Regions from separate parts of the Homo sapiens genome. Here region 1 is linked to region 2. The links are contacts of gene promoters, found by promoter capture Hi-C in blood cells and fetal thymus (Javierre and others, 2016). All regions are on one chromosome and are shown on one strand. Each heading gives the region's core, a stretch centred on a gene start or on the middle of the fragment in contact. The rest is flanking DNA. Distances are from core to core; before and after follow the strand shown. Region 1 overlaps ZNF175 (zinc finger protein 175). Region 2 holds the start of KLK13 (kallikrein related peptidase 13).

Region 1 (3,351 bases), core at 797-3,296, 510 kb before region 2:
AACCAGTTCTAGAGAAGGATGGGCAAGGAAAGCAGGTGTTGGGGGTGAAAGTATGAGGAAGCGGGTAAAAGCAAACCTTTTAATGACATGTTTCTTAATTAATTAACGTGTTAATTAACAATCCAAGAGGCAGCAATATAAGCATGTCACTAAAAGATTAGGAGGTAAATGCCAAAATAATTAGCTAAAAATGTAAAATGTGATTGCCTGGGAGGAGCTGGAACTTTGGTAAAAATATAGCAAGTGACAGCCCTTTTAAAAGATTACAGGCTTCACAAAACCATCTGATCCTCTTTCCTATGTTCAAACAAAACTAAAACCTACTTTCAAAGGAAAAAGTAACAAAAAGTATTTACAAACATATGCAAAAAGGACCTTAGGTTATTACTGTGTAAGAACTCTCTTGGGACACTGAGGCAGGCGGATCACGAGGTCAGGAGATCAAGACCATCTTGGCTAACATGGTGAAACCTCATCTCTACTAAAAATACAAAAAAATTAGCCAGCAGTGCTGTCAGGCGCCTGTACTCCCAGCTATTCAGGAGGCTAAGGCAGGAGAACGGCGTTAACCCGGGAGGTGCAGCTTGCAGTGAGCAGAGATTGCGCCACTGCACTCCAGCCTGCGCTTCAGAGCGAGACTCCGTCTCAAAAAAAAAAAAAAAAAAAAAAAAACCTCTCTAAAAATCCGGAGGCTAAACCAAACCAAAATATAAATCAAAAGGTAAGAAAAAGTAACTCACTAAAGACAAGTAATTGACCAATAAAATTATGAAAAAAAAGCCTGTTTGTAAACAAAGTAATGCAAATTAAAACACTATACTATCTTTATTTCCATCACATTAGAAAAGATAAAAATAACAAAATAAAAATAGTACTGTCCAGAGCAGAGGGAAATACACACCACAAAGAGAAGATAATGTGCATGGTACTGGGATATACTCTGACATGAATTCAGACACTGATGGAAAATCTGAATTAGCGACAGCAGTATTGATTCAAATGATAAACTGGAAATCAGGTCAAGCAGAAAAAAAATTTCATTGTTAAAAAAGGAAAAAAGCTTATATTGAACATGTGTCCTAAAACGCTAAACTTGAAGATGTTCTGAACACGCAAGTTGACCAACATCAATGCAAATGAGAGAAACGTTTGTGCATCTGCACTGCTGTCACAAAGACTTAGACAATTTCATGTTTTAAACTTGTTTTGTTTTGAGACAGGGTCTCACTCTATTGCCCAGGCTGGAGTGTAGTGTCATGATTGCAGCTCACTGCAACCTTGACCGCCTCAAGCTCAGGTGATCCTCCCACGTCAACGTACTCAGTAGCTGGGACTACAGGTGCATGCCACCACACCTGGCTAATTTTTGTATTTTTGTAGAGTCTCGCCATGTTGCCCAGGCTGGTCTCCAACTCCTGGGCTCAAGTGATCCGCCCGCCTCGGCCTCCCAAAGTGCATGAGCCACTGTGCCCCACCTAAACTTGTATGTTTCAATTTTTCTTTTAAGAACGACTTTTAAATATTTGGGGTATTTACAATTTTGAAAATGATTTATATGTGCAATTTATTTTGTGTTAATGTTCCCTTCTTTTAATACTTTCTATTATCAAATGTTTCTAGCAGGTTGAGATGATTTTAACAGGTTACTGAAATATATAATCTCACAATATATTGGTTCAGGATAATAACACACATATTTATTATACTTTTTTTAAAAAACAGAACATCTCTGTAAATTTGGTTATAAACCCATCACAGAACAATGGTACACTGTTTACTATTATAGTCACATACTATTTAAAGACTTGTAAATAAAGCATCAAGAGATACACAGAATAATTTAGGATTTCAGGAAATCTTGACTATACCAAGAATTCTGATTTCTTGTTACCAAATCCTGACTATTTCTATCTGTGGGCAATCTGGAAACACTGTTTTCCAGCATTTTTTGTTCACCTTTTTAAACAGGAAAAAGTGTTTAAAAGCCTCTTCACATGGTCCTTAAAAGCCTCTTCTCACTCTACCTCCCTGTGACTATTTAAATTACAAAGGAAGGAGATTTTGCCGCACCTTATGAGAACAGAGGAAAAACGGGCCAAACCCCATGGACCAAGCAAGGAATTTGGTGGGGGGGACCACTTGAAATTTTTCAAAGACCCAGTGGTGGATGAAGGAGCAGAACCAGTGCTTAGCAGGAAAGAGTCAGCTTTTCCATCCTATGACTGGGGCTTCTGATCAGACCAGGGACTACAGTTTCTTCTTTCTTGACCCAAGGCCAACCCTCTACTATCCTCTTTTATCAGCCAGTTCATGGTTTCCTCTAGAACACAGATAGCCTATGAATGTGGAAACATCAGCCTCTGTGGTCCTCGCTTGACAGGAGGCTCAAGACTGACTCAGGAGCAGGGAGCCCAGACCTGCTGCATCCTGTGTCTGCCCTCACGTTCTGGAGAACTATCCCCAGGGCTGCCCCTGTTTACCTCGCAAGATCCATCCTGCTTCTCTGGACCCAGGACCTGAGGCTTCTGGGATAAATTCACATCAGCAGGCATCTCCACTCTGGGCTTCTACTCTCGGTCTCTCTTGCTGACAACTCCACTTTTCCCAGGAGCCAGAAGCTGGATAGGTGTTTGGATTTTCCAACCAGGGACACGGCGGAGAGTCGTACTGGGCTATGAAGAGAGATCCTGCAGCCTCAATGATGTGGCCTGACCTGGGGGTTCTGCAGAAGCCTTGGAAAAGCAATGAGTACATGGTCACTCATTCAACATTCACTCCACAAATATTTCCTGAGGGCACTGAGGTGAAGTCACTGTGTCAGACATTGGAGTAGACAAAGTTCAGAAAGCCCAACTCTAGTTATTAGTCAGGGTTAAAAATAAAGACTGAGTCTGGACTAAATGGTGAATTCATTGCAGCTTTGCCACATTTTCACTGTGAGAATATGAAAATATTACTTTAGTTGTAGTTTCCAAAATGAAAATGCAGGTATTTATCACAGATGTTGGGAAACTTAACCAAGATGAAGCTTGTCAAGTCCTCAGTGCCTGCCTGGCACGTGATAAATATGAATTAAAAAAAGAAAGTTGTCAATTTAATTGTCAGCTAAATATCATGGGCATTATCATACCCATTTTGAGGATGAGGATAATGAGGCTGTGTGCTGTTACATAATTTGCCTGAAGGTTACTCAGTCTGTAAATGGAAAAACAGGGAATCAGCCCCACATCTGCCTTGTTCTAAACTGTACACTGTCTCCACTATCTCATGTACCCATACGTGGCCAGCTTCCAGAAACACCATTTCCTCTTTCTGTTGCCTTCATAGAACTCAGGCCGGGAGGTGGCTCTG
Region 2 (3,135 bases), core at 583-3,082:
TAACATCTTACTGGCTCTGCCATTTATTAATGAGTCAAGATACAATCTTTGACACATGTTCATTTCATATATGTCAGAGAGTCATGGTAAGACCATGTTTTAAAAGTTACCCTTTGACACTAGATTTGATCTCCACATCCAAATCTGAACTCCATCAATAAGGACTGTACAAGTTTCCATGTGAGCCCTCGCCCCATCCATCTCTATTCTTTATCCTCATTGTGACACCTCCACTCTCTCACTCTTTCCAAACTTCATCTGGTCCACGTCCCTGGCTTTCTTCCAAATTCTGACCCCACCTCAGTCCTTAATCCCTAATCCTGTCCCCTCCACCCCCTAGGATTAACTCAGGGCTCCACCCAGTCATAGTTCCTGGAGACACCTACTCATTCTCAAAACACCACCCCTTCCTCCTTCCTCTCCCCCACCCCCAATCCACGTCTTCAAAGCTTTCCGGCTCCTGCTTTTTCCTCTCCACCTAGGTCCCCGTGGACTCCCTCACCCCCTCTGGCCCTGCTCCTAAAAGGCCATTTCTGGAAAATGTTGCTTTCTCAGGTCGCATCTCTGCCCCCATCCAAGTCCGAGGGAGCTGATTTTCTATCCACCCAGCTGATGATTTCCTTCTTGTGTCCGGTGGTTGGCGGGAGCAGGGAGGCAGGATGATGGGATAATTGTGGGTGTCCTTGTGTCTTTCAAAAGAAAAAGGGTTGAGATGAGACTGGGAATTGGAACCTGGATGTGTTGAGAGCTAAACCTGAGATGAGGTTGGAGATGGGACTGGGGTTGAGGAACAGGCTGGAGTACTTGGTATGGTTAGGGATGGATAGGGAGGTGGGAATCTGATAGAACACGGCCATCTGGGGGCTGACTGCCTATTAAGAATTATGCATGGGGTTGGAGAAGAGGTTAGAAAACTGGGTGCAGAATGGGTTGAAGTTAGGGATGGGCATGGAACTCAGCGGGGTAGGGGGAAGGAAATGGGCTTTCCCCTTACCCTTTTTTGGGTCCTGAGGCCTGAAAGTTCACAGTGGGTTCAACTCTGCCTTGGGCGGGGTCAGACCTAGGTCCCAGCACGTCCTGGAAGCTCCGCCCCAAGCAGAGGGCCAAGCCCAGGTCGGGGGTGCCTGGAGACATCCCGCTGAGCCACTGGGGGTGGAGAGGGGGAGGCCAGGGACCAGGAAATGCTGAGTGAGCTGGGGGAGGGAGTTCAGGGGTTAAAAGCCATGGTTCGGGGCTGAAGTTCTAGACAGCTGGCGGCTGACGCTCCTCGTGGGCCCCTCACTCAGGTAGGGTCTGCCTGGGGCGGGGGCGGGGAGCGGAGGAGGGCAGGGAGGGGAGAGAAGAGGGGATAGGAAGGATGGGGAAAGCAGAAGGGCAGCTGAGTCAGGGAGAGGGAGAGTGAAGCTAGAGTCTCAGATCTAGAGAGAAACCTGCAGAGACGGAGAGAGGCGAAGGGCGCGGACAGATAAGAACTTGGGCTAATACCAAGCGTGTGGACAGACCCAGAGGGGTAGAATGGAAGGCAGACTCTGGAGGAAAAGGGCGAGAGTGCACCGACCACCCAGCTCGCCAGAGGGCAGGGGAGGAGGGACGGCTTCCTGGGGTGAGGGGCTGCACGCCGGAGCCCCAGGAGGTTGCACACTGTTCCTCCCACCTCGCCACTGCACCCCCACCAAGGATGGAATTGGAGGCGGGGGGCAGATTCCAGGGTCAGGGCTGTCAAGAGTGAATGAGGCGAGGAGACATTCAGGAGCAGAGAGGTTTCAGACGCGGAGGTTCCGGGCACGCCCTCAACACCCCCTTCACCTTCTCCTCAGGCCCCGCCCGCCCTGCCCTCCCCTCCCGATCCCGGAGCCATGTGGCCCCTGGCCCTAGTGATCGCCTCCCTGACCTTGGCCTTGTCAGGAGGTAAGAATGCGCGGGGGTGGAGGCGCGGCGGCCATTCGGGACAATGGTAGGAGGGGTCAGGCCGGAGGGGGAGGGGGCGTGGGAGCCGCGAGCTCCGCCCCCCGCCCACTCGGGGCCGGGTCCAGTGGGGACAGCTCAGAGCTCTTCCTGCTTGTCCCTGGGTGACCTGGTTTCCCGGCTGAGGTTGGCCCTCCGACCCCAGACCCTTCACCTCCCAAAATACCCTCGCAGCAGCCCCTCCCGCGTTCAAGGCTTCCTGTCCTCTCTGGAAAGCTGAAAGACATGGGTTCGCGTCCTGACGCTGCCGCTTTGAGCCAGTAGCCTAGCAGCTGCTTTGTGCCTAAATTGTTTTCATCTGGAAAATGGGCTTAATCTATAAGTGCTTACCAGAGAAGGTCACTGTGAATATTGAAACGAGGTAATGCGTCGAGCCTTCAGTATGTCGCAGGTAGAAGGGACTTGAAAGTTAGCCACTTAGCCGTTATTACTTTATTAGTAGTATTCCTTTTTTTTTTTTTTTTTTTTTTTGAGATGGAACCTTGCTCTGTCTCCCAGGCTGGAAGGCAGTGGCACGATCTTGGCTTACTGAAACCTCCGCCTCCCGGGTTGAAGCGATTCTCCTGCCTCAGCCTCCCGAGTAGCTGGGATTACAGGCGCCCGCCACCACGCCCAACTAATTTTTGTATTTTCAGCAGAGACGGGGTTTCGCCATGTTGGTTAGGCTGGTCTCGAACTTCTAACTTCAAGTAGCCCGCGTCAGCCTCCCAAAGTGCCAGGATTACAGGCATGAGCCACCGAGCCCGGCCTCTAGTATTCTGTCTTCATACTCAGCCCCTTCCAGAACCTTCTAGATTGTTATTTTAATCCTTGGGTTGACCCCAAACCTATGTGACCTCACCCCAAATTGGTAGTCCTTAAGATCCTTATGGATCTTTCCCATCTTTCCCTGCCGTTGTAGGCAGGTTCTCTGGAAACCCCGTTCATGAATCATTTATTCATTCAACAAACAGCTATTAAACACCGGCCACTGTGCTGGGTGCTGTACAAGCAGAGACACAGTCCCTGCTCTCAGCACCTGGAGTCTAGCGGGGACAGACGCAGATGTTATTCAAACAATTATCCAAATAATTAGTTAATAATTATCTTGACATGAGGTGAAGACTTCAAGGAGCCAAGCCAGGGGCCTAGAGATGTAATGGCGGCTTCCCGACCAGAGGCCTTCCCAAA

Evidence for each region. The method cuts DNA at HindIII sites, captures the fragments that hold promoters and counts their contacts. A CHiCAGO score of 5 or more calls a contact.
Region 1: a fragment that was not itself captured here is called in contact with the fragment with the promoter of KLK13 in region 2 in 1 of 17 cell types (neutrophils); the score reaches 5.2 in neutrophils.

The regions. Positions count from the first base shown.
Region 1 is chr19:51,572,531-51,575,881 of GRCh38, reverse strand. It overlaps ZNF175 (zinc finger protein 175), which reads right to left. Exons shown (of 5, transcript NM_007147.4): 2 at 2,481-2,732. The coding sequence starts at 2,552. Among named protein-coding and RNA genes, the nearest start is that of ZNF175, 2.9 kb to the right of the region's middle. The HindIII fragment of the contact is 1,968 bases long and covers 1,063-3,030 here.
Region 2 is chr19:51,063,789-51,066,923 of GRCh38, reverse strand. It overlaps KLK13 (kallikrein related peptidase 13), which reads left to right and starts at 1,832. Exons shown (of 5, transcript NM_015596.3): 1 at 1,832-1,908. The coding sequence starts at 1,857. The HindIII fragment of the contact is 5,030 bases long and covers 452-3,135 here.